Regions from separate parts of the Homo sapiens genome. Here region 1 is linked to region 2. The links are contacts of gene promoters, found by promoter capture Hi-C in human tissues and cell types (Jung and others, 2019). All regions are on one chromosome and are shown on one strand. The core of a region is centred on a gene start or on the middle of the fragment in contact, and the rest is flanking DNA. Distances in the headings are between cores, read along the strand shown.

Region 1 (5,678 bases), core at 1,046-3,545, 370 kb before region 2:
CCAGTCAAATTCCTTATTATACAACAAGTGGTGTGGTCCAAAGCTCTTTCTTAAAAAAGTTAGTAGTTATTTCAAATATGTATGCACCATAAATTAGTCATAAAGTCTGACATTGTAACTGTTTTCTTATAGGATATCTGGAAGTATGTAATTCCCCTCTTTTCCAATCCACTCTTTGCCTCTCATAGTGGTTGGATTATATAATAATTTTATGTTCCAATGCTGATAATTTTCTTTTTCTGAGAAAACTGTGGAGTCAATATGAATTCTTATTTCTAGGCCAAACCTAAAGGATTAAGGCTGAGAACATCTTCTGTTTTTGATAAAGATTAAAAATACATTTCCTTTTGCTGGCCTATGCTTCTCTTAATATTCAATGACTTCAAATACATAATTGTGATTGTTACTGTAAATCATAGCAAAATGGTTTATGGTCAGAGTTTATTTGATTTGGCTTTACCTATCCATGTGCTCTTAGAATAGGAGAGGTATGGAAATACTGGAGTAGGCCTAACACTTTGATTTAAAACTTTTTCAGAGAAACGGACTGATAAAATCAAAGGGTTACTTGTGGTTTGCTTCCAGCTCCATCAATATAGCGTATGGTATAAAGTTAAGAAAATTACTGACAGATTTGATTGTTGAACTAGGTCTGATTGGCTCCCAGACCTGATGTATTTCAGTAACTTGTGCTGCTTCCGGATGAGAGTTGCTTTTCCTTTTTAAGGGAAACATAAAAGCAGGGTACACTATAAGAATACCTAAAAGTCTGAATTTCTCATGGAGTTTTTTTTTAACTTTAAAGGAACCAAATTAAGATTTTAAAATATGCAAATTTCATTTTCTATTTTTGAAAGCCATTTTCTGATTCGTACCACCAGGTGTTTTCTCTTGGTTGTAGTTGGATGGTAATAATCTATGCCTTTATGGTGTGTGGCATTCTTAGAAGTCTGAAATATGCCACGTGCTGAGTGTTATACTAGATAAAAACACAACAACCTTAATGTTGGCCACAGAATATGTTAAATGCAGTGATCATGAAAACGCCTTTTTAGATAAGACAACAGATAGTAGATACCCGTTATCAATGCAAGACTTGTGAGATAAGGTGAGTGGGGGAGAGGTATGTGCTATATACTGAAATAGTTTTTCTGTTGTTAACAAGTAGCATCACATGTATTGTTTAGAATGATGTTTTACTTTGCTGAAGAAATTCTCCTGAATCCCAAAATAAAAAAGAGCATAGAGGAAATATTTAGTTATCTAAATATTTGATAAGGACTGAATCTCAACAATCACTTTCTGTTGTGGGTAAGAAATTATTATTTAGGTTGGAAAAATGAGACAAAATATAGCAATTTGGGGAGAAGTAAAGAACTGCATTTATTTTGTGTTTGGTGACTGTATTACTCAACACTGTAAACATATATTTTTTGTATGAAAATAAATGTTTCTTTTGTGGGACAGTGCCATTTTATGTACTGCTGAAATTATTCCCCTACAAACTGTATTTTATCTGGAGAAGTGATTGGTGTCAAAAGTATTGCTTGTATCAAGATATATGTACAGAGTGGAGGTTGCTCAGTAATATATAGTGTCCTGATGGTTTATGTTGACGGTGCACTGACATAATTTACATCAGCCATTCCTTTTTACCTTGAACTATAAGGTGTGATAGCTTCCGGATTTATATTTGTAAGACTTTTAACCATTTAAGGAGTTACTGTTAACAAATGCACACATATTTATGATATTCTGGTTCTGAGATGAAAACAAATATAAAACAATGTTGCTTGTGAGAACAGGAACTGGTAAGGAGCTCTTTGACAAGCAGCACTGTCGATGCAAGTCATAACAACTACAATAACAGCAACAATAGTTATTATTTCTAACAACTTCCATTTGAAGGATGCTCTTATGAAGTAGGCTGGTGTAGTGATGGAGCACCAAGTCTCTGGAGTCAGACTATGCAGGTTTGAATCTCAGCTCTGCTGCTAGGTGTATGACCTTGGCCAACTTGTTTGACCTTTCTGTGCCTTGATTTCCTAATTTTTAAAATGGGGAAAAGAATAGGATTGTTCTGGGAATTAAATGACATGATAGAGAGAAAATACATAGAATAGTAAATTATTTTAATGGTGATGATTTACAATATCTTTAGTCCTTACAGCAACTCTGGCAAGTTATTTTTTTCCCTCAAATTAGGGAAAGGTACAATTTTGCACTATTAATAGATATGAGACTGAGCATCAGAGAAGTTAAAGTCTTGCCCATGAACGCAGATTTGAGATTGAAATGTAGGTATGGTTAGCTTTCATGCTGTAATTCATTTCACTAAGTTTTGCTGCCTCAATATTAGAACTATTATTATTCCTGTGAAAGGGAAACTTTAAAAAGGGAACAGTTATAGGAATACTTGAGTCCAAAATTTTCATGGAAAAATTTTTAACCTTAGTGGAACCAAATATCTTAATAGTATGCAGAAAGGAACCATTCTCTAGCCTACAAATATGTTCTTTGGGGGAAGAAGGATTAATATTATCACTGAGTCATAAGTGTAAAATTTATGCAATATGGTTAAATTGAAATTAGTTATAATTTGGAGAAATTTGGAGGAGGTTATGATCATGGATACTGCACACAAGCTGTCACACACTTTCTAGATCTAGTTTTAATTACATGCACATGGATTATCCAATCTGACTATTAAACCTGGTAAATACTACACTAAGTTCTTATTAATATACTTATTTTGCTTAATTAAAGAAGTTATGTAGATTATAAAAATATATCTCTCTTTCAAGCTATTCCTCATATTCTCAAGACTTTTATTGGCAAAATCTATTGAAGCATAAACACAGTTTCTCACATAGTTATACTCCTCTCGCTATCCAGTTGAGTGCTATGTGCGCTGTAGAGGTTTAGTAATTATTTGGTGTTTTTGGCAAGCTTATCTTTTGTACATTCTTCTTGATTCCTAAACCTTTTAGAACACCCCCAACTTGAGCTTTCAGTGCAGCAATAACGTGGATATCTCTCTGCATCTCCATGTAGCTGCAGTTTTACATTGAACATAATTTCAATGTCAGTAGACTGCATGGTCTGCTATGTCAGAAAGAGGCAAGACATAGTGAGCTTTCCTAATACCTAAAATGCTCCTGTGGTGGTAGTGGGGACCAAAATCCAATGGGATTAAGAAAGATGGGTATTAAGCAGACTGCTTATATTGATATTGGAGAGAGTCAGGTCAAGTTTCGACCTTTTCATGTGTATTACCTAGTTTGGCAATGGCCTCCCCTACTCACCCAAAACCTGAGCAGATATCCTGGGCATAATCCAGTGCTCACCCCTATTTCCACACATGCTTTTAGTAACAGGATCCTATCCCATTCCTCTAAATCTTAAATTGTTCTCCCATTCATCCCTGTCTCGTCATTCCCATTGCTATTTCAGTCTTTATAACTTTGGTCCCACAATGTTTCTCTCTCTCTCTCTCTCTTTTTATGAATGAGCATTTCCCCACATTATTAAATTTCCTTCAAAATATGATTTTTATGCTCAACATCACTAATCATTAGAGAAATGCAAATCAAAACCACAATGAGATGCCATCTCACACCAGTCAGAGTGGCTATTATTAAAAGTCAAAAAACAACAGATTCTGGCAAGGTTGCTGAGAACAATGTATGCTTATATACTGTTGGTAGGAATGTAAATTAGCTCAGCCATTGTGGAAAGCAGTTTAGTGATTTCTCAAAGAACTCAAAACAGAATTACCATTTGACACAGTAATCCCATTGCTGAATATATACCCAAAGGAATATAAATTGTTCTGCCATGGAAACACATGCATGCATATGTTCATTACAGCATTATTCACAATAGTAAAAACATAGAATTAACCTAAATGCCCATCAATGGTAGACTGGATAAAGAAAATGTGTTATATACACACCATGGAATACTGTGCAGCCATAAAAAAGAATGAGAACATGTCTTTTGCAGCAACATGGATGGAGCTGGGGGCCATTATCCTAAGCAAACTAACACAAGAACAGAAAACAAAATACTGCATGTTCCCACTTATAAGTGGGAGCTAAACATTGAGTACATATGGACACAAAGAACAGACACCGGGGCCTGCTTAAGGTTGGAGAGAGTGAGGAGTGTGAGGATTGAAAAACTACCTATTTGGTACTATGCTTATTACCTGGGTGCCAAAATAATCTGTACACCCAGCTCCCATGACACACAATTTACCTATATAATATACCTGCATGTGCATCCCCAAACCTAAATAAAAGTTCAGACAAACATGATTTTTATGTTTTTGTGTTACTTTATCATATGGTTGTGTCCGATTTAAAAATCCCTCTATTTTGGCCAGGCGCAGTGGCTCACGCCTGTAATCCCAGCATTTTGGGAGGCCGAGGTGGGTGGATCACCTGAGGTTAGGAGTTCGAGACCAGCTTGGCCAAATGGCAAAACCCTGTCTCTACTAAAAATACAAAAATTAGCTGGGTGTGGTAGGGGGCGCCTGTAATCCCAGCTACTCACGAGGCTGAGGTAGGAGAATCGCTTGAACCCGGGAGGCAGAGGTTGCAGTGAGCTGAGATCTCACCACTGCACTCCAGCCTGGGCAACAGAGTGAGACTCTGTCTCAAAAAAAAAAAAAAAGAGTACCTCTATTTTTACTTAGATTATTTCCCCTCTTGGGCTCTTATAAATAATATTTCTGTACACATTTATATTTAAAAACATCTCTGGTCATTTCCTTAGGCTAAATTTCTAGAAATACAAATTCAGGGGCATAAGATCATATTTTTTAAAATAATGAAATACTTATTCTCCCATCAAAAGTATGATAGCATCTGTCTCACTAGAGTCTTGATTATTATTATCTAAAACAATCTTGTTAATTCAGTAGATAAAAATTTTATGTTATTTTAATCAATGTTTTTGAATGCTAGTGAGATAGAACATTTTTTGCATGTGTGTGTGATTTGCATCTCTAATTTTTGTAGTTTGTGATGTTTTGAATAGACATTTTAAATTTTAATGTAGTAAAATCTATTTTTTCTCATTTTCTACTGGTTTTATATTGATAAAACAGTTACATAAGTTAAATATTTATCTTTATTTTCTTCCTATTTTATAGTATTTAAAAAACCCAAAATATTTAACTCTTTATCTAAAATACATTTTGGTGCACCTTGTAAAATGAGCATTCAAAATTAAATTGGATAAATTTAATTTTTTCAAATAGGTAATAGTTTTCCAATTGTTAATTTTTACACAGGTTCTTGACTAGTTTCAAATACTGAGGTTTTAAATTTCATTTTTATATTTGATAGACTGAGTGCTCCTTCATTAATTTTTTTTCCAAAATATCTTTGTGTGTGTGTTGATTTTTCATCCAGAGAAATTTTAGAATAATGTTATCTACCTTCTTCCAAAATGTTACATTGGAAAAAATCGACATATTTAAGTATTTTGTGTTTCTTCATTTAGTCAGATCTTATTTTACATTTTTTTCAGTAGTCTATTTTTAGTCAGATAAGTTCCATACATATTTTTGTCATGGTTATTCATAGGCATTTTGTATAGATTGCTACTCTGAATAAGATATTTTATTCTACTGTATTTTCTAGCTCAATTTACTGGGATACATCTTTAAA
Region 2 (5,775 bases), core at 1,536-4,035:
TCATTTATCCTCTTCTTTGCTATTGTTTTCTTTTAGACATGCTTGCATTTCATACTATATTATTATTTTTGTTTGAACAGTCATTTGTTTTTTCCTACTTGAAAGCAATATTTTCTGAAATATTCCAGTGTTTTTTCCCAGCATATATCCAGCTAATATATTAAATAAAAGAGTAAGTTATAAGAAATTTGGTGCAATCATAATATACTTTTTGTAGCAGCATAAAACATATTTAACTTTTAAATACTGCCTTTGTAGGTTTCTCCTGATAAATAATATGTATACACATTCCCCAAAATGTATATAGCTGTTTACCTTAAAGTATTTAGGACCATCCATGTTATAATCTACTGACTACAATGTACTTTCAACTTATAAATGAGCTACTCTATATGATATAGACATGATATAAAAAAGGGAAATAGTGTCCCTGTCCCTCTAGGATTCACACAATAATTCAGTAAAATAGTAATTAATGAGACCATGTAAATTGTCTAATAAATTTCAATTTGGCAAATATTTTTCAGGAAAATATCTAAGCTATGAGAATACTAAATTTCTATTGTAAGAATTTAGCAAATATTTCCATTAAACATTCAGTTAAGATGTAGTCTCTCTAATATGTAGAAAGGAGGACTTGTAGCCTATTAAAAACAAGAATAACAATGACAAAAAGTCCCTTAATTTTAGCAGATTAATTACACCTCTTAATCAAGTGTGTGTAACACAAAGAACCAAATCTGGGTCCATAAGTGTTAGAGGATAGTTGATAAAAAGATTCCATGAATAGAATCTGAATAGCCTATGTTTTAGAAAGAATGGGGCAGAATGTTATGGCAATGGAGGGGGCCAGCCTTCAAGATGGCTGGCCCAACCCTGTCGATGTTAAAAAAAACACACCCAATATTTCTACAGTGCTCTTCTAACGTATTTTCTTTATTTCAGGTCACAAGTCTAGGGTTTTCATGGGTCATGTAGCAAGTGGTTTATAAACAAAATCAGAGTCTATAATAGTGTCATTATATTAAGAGGCAGAACTGCTATATGCTTTCATTATGTAAAATGTTTACATCTTGGGACTCCATAGCTGGTATTATTATGGCACACCCGAGATATATCTTGCTCCAATTAGCATTACCATGCTACTCACTATAAAAAATCCCAAAGGCAGACTAGAGAAGATAGAAGGATCACCACCTTCAGGAGACTGACTGGTAACCCAACCCATTGACTTCATTACGGCTTTCTTCCATGTGGCATAACGAATTTCACTTTCTGTGGCCTGGATCTGTGGTTCAAATCGTTCCATCCTGAGAACTGACAAAGCCTGGGGTTCAAGGCTCCAAACGCTTACTCCCTCTGCAGCCCCTGCTGCCATGGCAGCTCCTAGTGCAGTTGTTTCAGGCATAAAGGGTTTTATTACTGGAATATGAAGAATATCTGCTTGTAGCTGCATAAGAACTTTGTTGTTGGTCATTCCTCCATCTACCTGCAAATGACGAAGTGGAATTCCACAGTCACGGTTCATGGCTTCCAAAATCTCTCGGGTTTGGAAACAAACAGCTTCTAATGCAGCAAAAGCAATATGACATTTATTGGTAAACTGAGTGAGGCCACAGAGTATCCCTCTTGCACTGGGCTCCCAATAAGGTGCATATAACCCTGAAAAGGCTGGGACAAAGTAACAGCCATAAGAAGTTCCTACTTCTTTAGCAAGTCTTTCAATGTCTCCTGAGGTCTCTATAATTCCAAGATTGTCTCTTAGCCAACGAATAACAGCACCTGCTATAGCAACAGAACCTTCCAGTGCATAATATGCTGGCTTCTCTCTGCCTAGTTTGTAAGCTACTGTGGTCAAAAGGCCATGTTCAGAAAACACACATTTACGACCCGTATTACACAGTAAGAAGCAACCTGTTCCATAGGTGTTTTTGGCTTGTCCCTCCTGGAAGCACATTTGTCCTACTAATGCAGCACATTGGTCCCCCAAACACCCAGATATTGGCACACCTTCCAGGGCTCCAGTTTTAATTAGGCCATAGATCTCAGAAGAACTGAAGACATTTGGAAGAAGGTCCATTGGAATTTCAAAAAAGTCACAGAGCTCTTTATCCCATTCCAAAGAATGGATATTAAAAAGCATTGTCCTACTTGCATTTGTTACATCTGTACAATGCACGCCTCCATTAACTCCTCCTGTCAAACTCCAGATAAGCCATGAATCAATGGTACCAAAAAGAGCTCTACCTTCTTCAACAGCCTTTTGGACGTTTCTCACATTGTCAAGCATCCAACGAAGTTTTACTGCACTGAAGTAAGTGCTGAGTGGAAGGCCTGTCTTAGACTTGACGAAGTTACTATTTCCTGGAATTTTTTTACTAAGATCCTCAACAGTAGTCTGGGTTCTTAGATCAAGCCACACCACAGCATTGTAGAGAGGCTCTCCTGTTAACTTGTCCCAGATTACAGTGGTTTCCCTCTGATTGCTGACACCAACAGCTTTTATGTTGGATATATCAATATTCAGTTCGTCAAGTTTCTCACACGTTCTCGCTATACACTCGTAGACAGACTGAAGAATTTCTTTAGGGTCTTGTTCCACCCATCCTTCTTTTGGGAACTCTTGTGTTAATTCCACTTTGTGATGACTAAGTAGTTCCGCTGTTTTTGAATTGAAAACCAGAAAGCGAGTGGAGTTGGTGCCCTGGACCACCGCTCCCACCAACGGCCCCACAGCTGCTGTCTTTGGGGCTGCCATGACACCAGTAGGTCGGCTCAGCAGCTCTGGGACCGTTTCCCAGGCCACGGCGGTGTTGGGGGCAGGGAGCGCAGCCAGTCAGGAGCACAAGGCGCAGGCGCAAGGCAACCTTTGCCCTTTAACTGGCGCGGCGCCTTCTCACCCCACCCCTCCAGCCCAGGCTTCACCTCCAGCCACTCAGTTGTCTTCTAAGATTTAATTTTTTTTTTTAAATCATATATTTATCCATGTAATTACAGTTACCGGCGTTCACTCTTTTGTGTGGATCTATATCTCTACGTTATCATTTTCCTTCTTAATAGTGCAGGTCTGCTGGAGATGAATTCTTCCAAATTTGAACATCTGAAATATATTTCATAGTAATATTCAAAGGTATTTTCTCGGGGTATAGAATTCTATTTGACATATTTTTTCTTTTTAAGTTTCAGGACCTTGGAGCTGTTGCTCTACCATCGTCTCTCTTGCTGTTTCAGGTGGAACTTTGCTATTATTTTTAACATGTCTATTTTTCTCTATCTTTAGGGTTTTGCTCTTTATCAGTGGTTTTGCCCAGTTTTATCATGAAGTGTCTTGGAATAGTTTTCTTATTTTCTTTGCTTGGGGTTTACTGAGCTACTTGAATCTGTAGGTTTACAGGTTTCATCGACTTTGAAAAGCTTTGGGCCCATTATTTCTTCAAATGTGTTTTATTCTGTCTCTTCTATCCCTTAGGGACTCCATTGATGCCCTACTCATTATAATTACCTTTTCTCCTTGTCCTTGATTTCAGATAGTTTCTGTTGCTCTCTCTTCAAGTTCACTAATCTTTTCTTCTCCAATGTCTGCTCTGCTATTAATTCATCCAGTACATTTTTCACCTCACATATTGTAGTGTTCATCCCTAGAAGCTCAATTTGGGTTTTTTAATATCTACTTAACTTTCTGAACACATGGAATACAGTTAGAATAACTTTTAATTTCATTTTCTGCAATTCTAACCTCTGTGTCAGTTCTGGTTCGGTTTTGATTGATTGCTTATCTCCTCATTATGGCTTGTATTTCCTGTTTCTTTGCATGCCTGATAAGTTTTAATTAGATGCCAAACATTGTGACTTTTACCTGACTGGGTGCTTGATATTTTTGTATCCCTATAAATGGTCTTGAGTTTTGTTTTGGGATGCAGATAAATTACTTGGAAACAGTTCAATTCTTTTGCGTCTGCTTTTAAGATTTCTTAGATGGCACAAGGATAGTACTCAGTCTGGGGCTAATTCTTCCTCTTTACTGTGAAGAGATCTTTCTATGTACTCTACCCAACACCCCTGACAAATGAGGCTGTTTGGAACAGTAATTCCTCCCAGCCCTGAGTGACCACTGGATACTGTTATCTCTAGTCTTTCCAGGTGCATCTTTCGTTAGCCTCAGTAGTTTTCTCCTATACATGCACTGATCAATACCCAACTGAATACTCACTGGGGGACCCTCTAAAGCTCTCTGGAGTTCTCTCTCTATGCAACTCTTTTTTCTCCAGTGCTATGCCTGGCAGAGTCTAGCTTCTTTGGTTTCTCTAGGCTCTCAGCCTAATCTCCTTGCCATAGGTTTCCACTGAGTTTCAATTGGGTTCCCTGTCTGTGCTGTTGCTTCAAAACTCTCTCAAGAAACTAAGCTGGGGAAATCATAGTAGTCATGTCACTTGTTTTTAATCTCTTAGAAATTACTGCCTTTCATTCCGTGATATCCAGCATTTTGTGAACTGTTGTTTTATATTTTGCACATTATGTGAACTATTTCATCTATTTTTTCCATTTTTGATTGTTTTAGATGAAAAGGTAACTCCAATCCTTTTTACTACATCTTGGCCAGAGTGGAATTCCACTAAATGGAAACTTAAATTTTCAGATTAACTATAGAGTCGGTGAATAAAGACTTATTTAATCATTAATTAAAATATATTGAATATGCAGTCAATGAATGGCAATTTTTTGTATTAGGGCATAGGCTACATTTCTGAATTAGCTCAAGGATAAGGCCCATTTGTGTTTAGTAAAACCAAATAGAACAAGATAGAAAATAACATAAAAATTAACTGTGATATTGTTATTTCACTATTTTATCTGGGTCGTATTTTTTATTTAAGCAAAAACCCTTCAGGAAATACTATGAAGTCTGAGAAAGAAAGAACATTGAGACTTAATTTGCGAAGTAAGGTATAGAAATTATTAAAAACTGGATCAGATTTTCCTGGTTGTGTCTTTGTTTCTAAAATTCTATCAAAGCTTTTCCAAGCAAAATTGTAGAGGCAACATTTACCCGTATTCCAGTTAACCATAACATGTCTGCATTTTCATGGAACAAATTTATATTTACATTGTTTTAACTTTTTTCTCTCCAGGTATTTGGCAAGAGTAAACATTGTGTGTATAGATTAATGTACGCAATAAAAAGATTTGACCCAGAGCTTCTTTTCTACATTCCCTCTCTCCGTTCACACCAATATTTACAAACAAATGTTCCTAATTCCATTAGGTTTTGAGTCTGGGAATACTTTAAGTATTTTGTCTTTAATACAAATACCTTATTTATAAAATCGTCAGTTCTGCTTATAAAGAACTGGCTTACATAGTAGTTTCACTGATAATAAATTGTAGCCACTAAATAATCAGATAATAAGTGTCCCAATATAGTTTAGAAAGTTTACCAAATTGCAATAACTTCCTTAGAGTAATTGCAAACTACTGATGGGTTTAACCAAAGCTGATAAACAGTATTTAAAACAAGCAAACGAAAACTAAGGAGCTTAAATGAAGTCCACTATCTTCTTTATTTCAAAAACAAAACAAAACAAAACCAACTAAAATTTTTGTTGTCTATAATAGCTTCTTTATATTCTAATGTAGGATTTAAGCACTTCTGAAATCTTTGTTGGCACTACCTTATTTGTGAAGGCATTCAATTTTACAAGAAAATTGTTATTTCATTTGTATTATATTCCACAAAATCATAAATGCTTTAATGGTGAACATACTATTCAGAATAGT

The links. The method cuts DNA at HindIII sites, captures the fragments that hold promoters and counts their contacts. A contact is called where the count stands out against the background at its distance.
Region 1: a fragment that was not itself captured here is called in contact with the fragment with the promoter of GK2 in region 2 in 1 of the 25 tissues and cell types used here (liver).

The regions. Positions count from the first base shown.
Region 1 is chr4:79,036,541-79,042,218 of GRCh38, forward strand. All of the region lies in intron 2 of LINC01088 (long intergenic non-protein coding RNA 1088), which reads left to right. Among named protein-coding and RNA genes, the nearest start is that of LINC01088, 68 kb to the left of the region's middle. The HindIII fragment of the contact is 7,883 bases long and covers 1-5,678 here.
Region 2 is chr4:79,405,443-79,411,217 of GRCh38, forward strand. GK2 (glycerol kinase 2) reads right to left here and starts at 2,786. Exons shown (of 1, transcript NM_033214.3): 1 at 919-2,786. The coding sequence starts at 2,758. The coding sequence ends at 1,097. The HindIII fragment of the contact is 12,605 bases long and covers 1-4,213 here.